Regions from separate parts of the Homo sapiens genome. Here all the other regions are linked to region 2. Evidence: promoter capture Hi-C in 16 types of primary human blood cells and fetal thymus (Javierre and others, 2016). All regions are on one chromosome and are shown on one strand. Each heading gives the region's core, a stretch centred on a gene start or on the middle of the fragment in contact. The rest is flanking DNA. Distances are from core to core; before and after follow the strand shown.

Evidence for each region. The method cuts DNA at HindIII sites, captures the fragments that hold promoters and counts their contacts. A CHiCAGO score of 5 or more calls a contact.
Region 1: a contact is called between a fragment that was not itself captured here and the fragment with the promoter of IL6ST in region 2, in 3 of 17 cell types (naive CD4 T cells, total B cells and monocytes). The highest score is 6.7, in naive CD4 T cells.
Region 3: a contact is called between a fragment that was not itself captured here and the fragment with the promoter of IL6ST in region 2, in 7 of 17 cell types (monocytes, M1 macrophages, naive CD4 T cells and 4 more). The highest score is 8.5, in monocytes.

Annotation. Positions count from the first base shown.
Region 1 is chr5:56,873,875-56,876,874 of GRCh38, forward strand. MAP3K1 (mitogen-activated protein kinase kinase kinase 1) reads left to right here. Exons shown (of 20, transcript NM_005921.2): 10 at 1,158-1,436. Among named protein-coding and RNA genes, the nearest start is that of SETD9, 34 kb to the right of the region's middle. The HindIII fragment of the contact is 755 bases long and covers 1,116-1,870 here.
Region 2 is chr5:55,993,435-55,996,592 of GRCh38, forward strand. IL6ST (interleukin 6 cytokine family signal transducer) reads right to left here and starts at 1,529. Exons shown (of 17, transcript NM_002184.4): 1 at 1,350-1,529. It overlaps IL6ST-DT (IL6ST divergent transcript), which reads left to right and starts at 1,733. Exons shown (of 2, transcript NR_102755.1): 1 at 1,733-2,120. RefSeq lists cis regulatory regions at 297-2,615, 1,309-1,982, a silencer at 1,260-1,739 and an enhancer at 1,571-2,082. The HindIII fragment of the contact is 8,053 bases long and covers 1-3,158 here.
Region 3 is chr5:56,856,403-56,859,450 of GRCh38, forward strand. It overlaps MAP3K1 (mitogen-activated protein kinase kinase kinase 1), which reads left to right. Exons shown (of 20, transcript NM_005921.2): 2 at 198-348. It also overlaps the pseudogene LOC124901214. Among named protein-coding and RNA genes, the nearest start is that of MAP3K1, 42 kb to the left of the region's middle. The HindIII fragment of the contact is 944 bases long and covers 1,125-2,068 here.

The DNA of each region.
Region 1 (3,000 bases), core at 243-2,742, 880 kb after region 2:
TTCTTGTACCTAGTTCATTAATGAAATTTAATGAACTATTAATGAACATAGGCCCTCACCTGCCCTTTCATGACCCATCAAAGAACTCTCAAGTTGATTCTGAGCTGTTAGAGTTCATTCTTTCAAGCATATGGTCTAGTTTGTTTTGCCTAAGCTTTAGGTCAGACTAGGCTCTACATTCCTAGCTTTTTATTAAGCATGTTAGGTAAGACAGTTAAAACATAGGTAGTGGTACACTACTTAACAGTACCAGAAGCTCACTATATTCTAGTTGGTTCATTCTCCCATAATATCCCTTTATAACAAAACATATGTAAATAAGTATGTTATGATCTGTTTTTCAAAAGTTGTGTTTATTCATCTTTAATATTTAGGCATTTTTCACATAATGAATTATCTTAGGTATTAAGCTTACTTTTAGCTAATTGGCCCATAATGTCAAGACCATTCACCCTTTCCTCACTGTAGGGACTCTGGCTTTTGGGGCATGGTATTGACGACGATAACAGCATATACTATAATTCTACGTCTACATTTATCCTTTGCTTACTCGAACACAAGCATTTTTTCTTCAGTTGTTTGATTTGTCCACTCCATTCGTTTTACAGTCCTACCTGTTTTGTCTAGTTTTTTAAACCTTTTTATACAGACAAAAACCAATTAAATGTGTTTTGCTTATTGCTCTTGTCTGTAAGAGAAATACTCTATATCTCTTGAAACCTTCTCCTGGTGCTTTTTTTGATTTGTTTTTTGTTTGTTTGTTTGTTTTCTTAATCTTGCTCCAGTTTTTCTCTTTAAACTACCTTAATATGAATACAGAGTTGAGGTTTTCACAGTTTTTTGGCGTTTTGGTAAGCATGTGGGACAGTAGAGGCATAGAATGTATGTATAGCCATCTAGTGACTTAATGGAGCTTATTATTAATTTTACCTGAGCTAATAAATATTAATGACTTTGGATAATTATCAGTTAAACTTGAGTATAAAATTCTTCCTTATGATGCTTAAGTGGCTGGATATATTTGAAGTTGTGAAGGATGGTAAAGATTTCAGAAATGTCCAGTTTTTACGTAGTAATCAAAAATGATGCTAAACTCAAAATGCTCTGGGTCCATAAGCTTTTCTTTACATTGAATTCATCGTGTGTGTTTGATACAGGTGTTTGGAATGGAACTCGTTGGCTGCTTATTTTCTAGAAACTGGAATGTGAGAGAGATGGCCCTCAGGCGTCTTTCCCATGATGTCAGTGGGGCCCTGCTGTTGGCAAATGGGGAGAGCACTGGAAATTCTGGGGGCAGCAGTGGAAGCAGCCCGAGTGGGGGAGCCACCAGTGGGTCTTCCCAGACCAGTATCTCAGGAGATGTGGTGGAGGCATGCTGCAGCGTTCTGTCAATGGTCTGTGCTGACCCTGTCTACAAAGTGTACGTTGCTGCTTTAGTAAGTAGCTTTATTCCATAATCATATCATTATGGGTTTGGGGTTTTTTGATGGTTCGTAGATAGTGTTTTTAAGATACAATAAAGCTACTTTACCTAATTTTGGAAAATCCAAATTTTATTTTTATTCCATAATTCCAGGAAATTACAGCTTTTGTTTTGTTTATTTGAATTTTACTGATTTTTATGATGTCCAAGGTTTCTTATATAACTGTTTTACTTTTTAGTTTCATTGTTTTAAAGGCTTTGCAGGGGTATCCAAGGGAGAGAATATAGTCATGGTTTCTTAGTTTCTGTTTGGGCCAGTAAAGCTCCTTCCTCATCCTCCTTTTCCACTTACCACTAGAGACAGACTAAAAACCATGGCTTCAGGCTGCTAAAGCCTAAAACAAAACAAAACAAAACAGAACAACAACAAATAGGGTGAGCTAGACAAGCTTGCTAATTTTTAAAGATTTTTTTAATGTCTTGCTGTTCATATCTGTACATTTTTCTGAGCAGATACCTTATACATGACCAAATTAAAAATGCTTTTTGGGATGGCAGAGTCATCAACGTTATTCTGATTTTTTAAAAAATTTATCAGATATTAAGGAAGATATGTTTTTAATAAACATTTTGATTGATTTTTAATAAACATTGTCATGTGGAGATTCAAAAGCCTTTTCAAAGAAAAGGGTTCCATGACATAGATCATTGAGTTGTTTTCCAGTTTAACCTGTTAAAAGTTCTTTCATGGGTGGAATAGAGTGACAAGGAGGTAATTTAGGAGACTAACTGGACTTTCTCCATTCTGCGTATATGTCTCTTTAGGGCTTCTCAGCCTCAGTACTATTAACATTTGTTAGATAATTATTTGTTGGAGGGTGGGGGGAGGGCCAGGGATGTTGTCATGTGTGTACTGTGGCAGCATCTCTGGCCTCTACCCATTAGATACCAGGAGCAAACCCACCCCCACCCGATCATGCCCCCAGTTATGACAACCAAGAATGTCTCCAGGCATTGCCAAATGTCTCCAGTGGTCAAAACTGCCCCCAATTCAGAATCACTACTTTAATTCTTATCTAGTCTGTTCTTAAAATTCATGAGCAGTCTGTAGGCTTCCTCCCTCAGTCTTTTTCTAATGCATCCTCTACCGATTGGGCCTAATGAATCTTCTTGACAGGTAATACAGCATGACAGTTACGAACATGGGTTTGGAGTCACAATTGAGTGATCTCATAATTTATCATTCCAACCACAATGCTTGCATAATGTGCTGGTTAAAGTTGGACTAGCCTAGGCAATCTGAACACATGATCAAGATCATAGAGACAGACCTGGATTCAAATTCTGGTTCTCCCTTTTACTAGCACGATGGCTTTATGAAGGTTACTTAACCTCTCTTAAATAAACTTCAGTTTTCTCACCCATAAAATAATGAAAATACCTTTTAGGTTTGAAATTAGATTATGTAGAAACTTTCAACCATATGCCTGGCACATTGTAAGAACATTTAATATTATATAATAGTTATCATTATTTCTTAAACACAACTTGGATTATCCCCCAAATCATTTAGAAAC
Region 2 (3,158 bases), core at 279-2,778:
AAATAAATTGAAAATACTGCAATTCACAAATAAGAGTGAGAACAACATTTTTAGTTACGTAAGACTATATTATATTAAATTAGGTGGCAGCAGTATTTATAATAATCTAAATTGCCTGTGAGAAAATTAAACTGGTATTGTCAATACATACTTAAAATAAGAAAAAAATCCCACTACAGTCTGTCCTTTTTGACACTTTCTCCTTCCTGTAATTTTTTTCTTTCACTCAAGATTAAAAACAAACGTTCAAGATTATCCCTAAAGAGAAATAGTTGGAAAGCACAATTTAATAGCAAGTTGGTTCTATAAATGTAATATTTCAGTTCATAGTTCAAAAATACTTCCAAATAGGAATTAACATGAATTTAAGAAATTAACATAATGGCACACAGCTAAACTGATGATCTGAGTCCGTAATTTCAAATTAAGAGTTGTTCCAACTTGAAGCTGGCAGTCATACACAGTTTAAAGGGTTTGTTTACAGCACTGTCAAAAGCAAATACCACAATCTTTCAGAAAATTCACCCTGGCATTCTAATAACTAGTTATTTTAAGGCAGTATAATTGTTGAAATACTTCACAAACTAAGCCAAAATGCGTTTCCTTCTGAAGGCAAAAAAAAAAAAAAAAAAAAAAGGTGACGTCTTATTTTTAACCTGTGATTTTTTTTTTTTTTCAGTTTCGGATTATGAAATAAAATGCTGTTCATCCACTGAAGAACAGACCCTTGCTTCCTGCACTATCTTCAAAAGTTTAGGTCGGAGGAGGTAAAATTTTAAAAACTGATTTGTTCTCCTTGGGATACAGTGAGATGTGGAATTCGTTAGGAATGATAATTATTAATAGAAAAGATCAAAAGAAGGAAAGAAACGTTAATAGTGTTTATAAGCATTGTGAACTTTCAACAAAGCTGAAACGTTACGATTTCAAGATGAAAAAACGGCTTTGGGGAAGGGAAATCCACCTCGAGAATGAAGACAAGTGCGGAGCGAATAGAATTTCAGGGGAGATGAAAAGGGGATTGGGAAAAACGTGGGATCTGGTAACAAAAAGGGGGGTTTGTTCTTGAAGGGCGTTCTGCGGGGCGGGCGTTAAGAGGGGTGCGTGCGTGCGCCTGGGTGAAGTTTGTACTCAGGGCTGCGATAATCGAGGTGACAAAGTTGTGGAAGTAGAATTCGGAGGTCCGGGAGCAGGAAGGGGAAGGAATGTGGGGATTTCCAGGCTGGGCTGACAAGTTCCGGGCGCTGCTCTCAGGGGGAAGGGAGGTCTCCTCGAGTGCCAGATAGCCCGTCCGAAACCACCGACACTCTAACTCCAGCTACGCGACCCAGCACCCGGCCCCTCCTCACCTCAGGCCGCGCCGCCTCGACCCTCCGCGTCTCCACAGCGCACGAACCCCTTGGCGCCAGGCTGGGCCAGACCCGTCGGCCTGGCAGGCGCGGCCCCCGGTTCAGCTGCGCCGGGGCGGCCCAGCGCGACTCCGCGGGCCTTTTGGCTGCTCGCCCCGGCTCCGGAACACTGTCAGATCCTTCTCCGCAGAGGTAGCGCGCCACCCCAGTCCCGCGGCGGGGCGGGGCGCTCCCCAATCCCGCCCAGCTGCGCCCCCGGCCGGCCAACGCTGCGCCCCGCCCCCTACCGGGACCTAGGCGCTGATTGGCCCCTGAGAGACCCTTTGCGCCCAGGCATTGGTCCAGTGGCCGCCTGTCGACGAGGGGGCGGGACTCCGAGGGGTAGCGATTCCCGTAACGCGGCTCTTCGCGTCCCGGATTCCGGTGGCTGCGTCCGCGTCGCCTCTCCCAGACTAGATCGAAGGGTTCCCCCCACCTCCCCTCTGTGGGCGGAAAGAGCGGAATGTTCCATTTTTCTGTGGAATAACGGGGTCATGAACTGGAGCCCGGGTGCTGCCCGCCGCCCGCTGCCCCCGCCCTCCCTTCTCGCCAGGGCGCCTGCGGCCTCTCTTCGCGGCCTTCCCCGAGGGACTCAGAGCCGCGAGGGACCGCCTAGCTCCCTTGGGGATGGGGAAGGCGTGGGAGCCTCTTGGGGAAAGTGAAGAGCTCGGTGGCCGTGACTCCGCACGAGACTGCGGCAGATTGTGGCGGCGGCTTCTCTCCAAGACTTACGTAAACGAGCCTTGCCACAGTACTTTTTTAAATTAGTAAATGAGTTTGGGTGCGATTGATCAGTGAGCCCCAGAGGTGGTGGCCCACCAAGCGACTAGTGTTTCTTTGCGGTTTGTACCTCCCCGTTTATGATAAAAAATACCGGGTAAAAACCTATTCATCCCGCCTCCGCCCCCCCCTTTCCCTCAGAAAATGGACCTCAAGGCTCATGATGTTTGTTTCTCCCCAAAGGAAGATGAGAATCTTGAGTTAAAAGATAAGGCATGTGCGTGCGTGCGTGTGGGGTGTGTGCGTGGGTGTCTGTAAAAGTAAACACCCAAAGGTAGAGGTTTTTGTGGAAGAATGAGAGGATATAGGAAGGAAATAATGGTTTAATGAACTTAAATTATATCCATAAATTAACAATTATAAAGTTCTTCATTATATTGAGGATTCAGATAGAGTAAAACATAGATCGAATTTTAATCTCTTAGTTGTTGATCAGATAATTTATAAAAGGGCAAAGTGGGCCTGCTAACGGAGTCGCAGGCAAAGTAGATGGTGCTGCAGCTGATGTGTTCAGCTCTTGCTCCTCCCTGTCATCCTATATCTAACCTATAGATTGTGACCAGATTCTGTTCTAGCTTTGCCATTTAGAGGGGTGTTTATTTTAAAACAAATTTTTATAAAAATTTGTTAAATTGAAAATTTTGTATAGATCCAGGAAACTTGATTTTTTTGTTGTTGTTCACAGTCTCACTCTGTCACCCAGGCTGGAGTGCAGTGGCTGGATCATGCTCACCGCACGTTCAAATTCCTGGGCTCTAGCGATCCTCCCACCTCAACCTCCCAAGTATCTCAGACTACAGGTGCCCCTACAATACCTGGCCAATTTTTAAAATTTTTGGAGAGACAAGATTTTGGTATGCTGACCCGGCTGGTCTTGAACTGCTGGCAACAAACGATCCTCCGGCCTTAGTGGCCTCCCAAAGTGCTGAGATAACAGGTGTGATGCAAAGATGTATTTAGGGGAGATGTATAGTGGTTAAATGTACCCTC
Region 3 (3,048 bases), core at 347-2,846, 860 kb after region 2:
TAGGTCTGCATGATATATGTCAGTAGTATATAATTCAGAATCTTTTCAAGCTTTAAGTCATTTGGGGTTTTTAGCAGTTATCTTTTTTATTACATGTCCGTTGGAAGTATAAAATAGAACCATCCATTCTGTTTGTTCTTGGAAATTATTTTTCATATATACATTTCTCATTTTATTTGTTTCTGCCTGCATTTTAGTCGTGAGATGGAGAATAAAGAAACTCTCAAAGGGTTGCACAAGATGGATGATCGTCCAGAGGAACGAATGATCAGGGAGAAACTGAAGGCAACCTGTATGCCAGCCTGGAAGCACGAATGGTTGGAAAGGAGAAATAGGCGAGGGCCTGTGGTAAGTGGCTATGGGTTACCAGTTATAAGGAAGAAAGCATAGGAGGAAATGGAAAAGTAAGCATAAATAGATCCTCTTGTAAGCTTTTCTTCTTCATTTTAAATGTAGTAGTTTTCTTTACTTGATATTGTGGTCATTTGGAAGAAACCATAATTAAAACTGTGCTCATTAAACAACTTAAACTATTCTGGGAACTTAACTGTTGTGTTTGGTGGAGGGGTAAATGCTTAAACCAAGACTGCCCTCTCATGTCAGTATCTAAAATCCTTTCATTGGAGTTTTATACTGTACTTGTAAATTTTAAAAAGAATTTTTCCAGTTTATTTTAGATGTTTTATCTCTAAGACAGGATCCAAGGATCTTAATTTCAGAAATCTTCTAGGAAAGAAAACATTTAATTGCAGTAATTCATAAGTGTAATGATTGGGTTTTCACATGCATGCATAAGATGTGCGTTTCTCCAACTTTGTTACAGTGTCAGCATGTTATCCTCATTTGACATGAAAAAATGTTTAATAGACCTATGGGGATTAAGATAAATTAAAAATGTGTGGGGTTTGATGAAAGAAAATCTAGAGTCCTAGATTTTAAAAAGCAGGGATACTCTGTCCTTTGCTATAGGTATAAGAATATATATTCTTATAAGAATACCATCATGAAATGTGTGTCTTCATTCTTACAAAGGAAGAAGTATTACAGTATCCTAGCACTAATCTCTCTCAGCAAGTTTTTATTTTGTTCTTTTAAAACAGATATGGCAACTTAAAATTCATCTAAGCTTTGACAAGGGTCTAAATACACCCCTGCCAAGTGATTGTCTGCCCTACATTCATCCCATATGCCTATTTAAGTTTACATTTAAATTAATTAGATGTAAATAAAAGTAAAAATTTAGTTCCTCAGTCTCACCAACTACATTTCAAATGCTCAGTAACCACATGTGGCCAATGGCTACCTTTTAGGCAGTGCAGTTTTAGCACATTTTCACTGCCTCAGAAAGCTCTCTTAGATGTGTAGTACTGACTCGTGTCTGACTTAAATAACTCAATAATCCCTGTGGCTTTCGATATCCTCATCACTGAGCTGCAGTCTGTCAGGAATATTTTACCCACTGGTTCTCATTCTAACCGATGGAATTATACAGAATAAATCTAATTGTTCCTTTCCATACCAGCACTTGGTAAGTTATTATGGGCCCGTGAGTCCTTGTCTTTACAGCTAAGTTTCTACATTTCTTCCATTTATTACTCACGTGAGGTGGTATGGTGGGAACCCCTCACCATTTTAGCTATTCGTGCCAGAAGGTGAATATGAAGAAATTAAGGATTTATCTTAGAGAAGAGAAAGTGCTATTGAAACATCTTGTAGAATGTTGGCAGTTAAAAGGGCATATTACTACTCAATCAATATAAAGAACTTTTGAACAAGCAGAGCCATCTGAAGTTTGAATGTGCTGCTTTCTGAGCTCCTTTAGATGGAGGTGTTCAAACAGCCTAAATCTTTTGAGAATACCGTAGGGCATAAATCACAACTTTTTAAAAATGAGCCAGCTATTTGTTCTTTATTATACATGAACTAAGAATATCCAGTTCTCTAAAACAAAATTTTGGTTTTTATACTGTTCACTTTCTAGCAAGTACCAAAGTACCTTGTCTGTATATAAGACATGAGTGAAGAGGGAGGAGATGTGTGGAATAAGATGCATAACACATAGTCCTTAAGCTTAATTATGCCACCCTACATTTTATGATTTACGGATTTCGTATTATCCTTAGGAAGTTTACTGTTTACTTGGGAGGTCTGATTTTGTTTGTTTTTATACTTTAAGTAAGTTGTGTCAAATCATTCTTGAAACATAAAGGGTAAATATCTCCAAATGGGAAAATTAGACTTATACATAATAAATAGAGTAATACATGAAATATCACAAAGCAACTTGTGACTAGGTGCCAAATGTGTGGGATGGGCAGAAGAGCAATAGGGACTTAGGAAAGAGAAGGAATGTCTTGCTGGTAGACTTCAGGGAAGTTTCATAAAAGGAAGAATTTTAACTCAGCGTAGAAAGATGGGTAAATTTTCCTCATGTGAAGGTGTACTGCCTGGGGTGCTGCAGGCTGGAGATGAGTATTAAAATAGGAGGAGAGTGAGTGAAAGCACAGGAGGAGGAAGGGTCAGGCAAGTTTGGTGAACACAGCAACTGGCTATAGAACAGGAGCAGTGGGAGAAAGTCCAGAAAGGTCTGCTGAGCTTCAGTTGTACAAAGCTGTGGAGTTTGGCCTTTGGTCATGGCTAGATTAGGTCTGAAAGCCTTAATTAAAAAAAAAAAAAAAAAAAGGCAGGTCTTGTAAACTGCATTTCTGCTTGAGAAATTGATCTTTAAACTTCTAGTCTCTTTTGGTTTTCTGAGATACACATCTAACCTATTATTGTAATATAACATTGTAAAGAAACACACACACAAAGCAGGGAAAATGATTGCATAGTGATCAAACTATTTGAAATTATGCCCAGTGTTGTTTCAAGGTCCTACATTTTGTAAAAACAAATAAAAACGTACCTAGATCTTTGATCTAGTAGTTGAATAAGTTGACTGTAGAAGTTATGAGTGCTTATTTTTCACATTTGTTTAATCACCTTTGATTGTTGCTTTTGAGTGTTAAATGAGTTAGGGTATATAATAACAAATAATACCATTTCTAC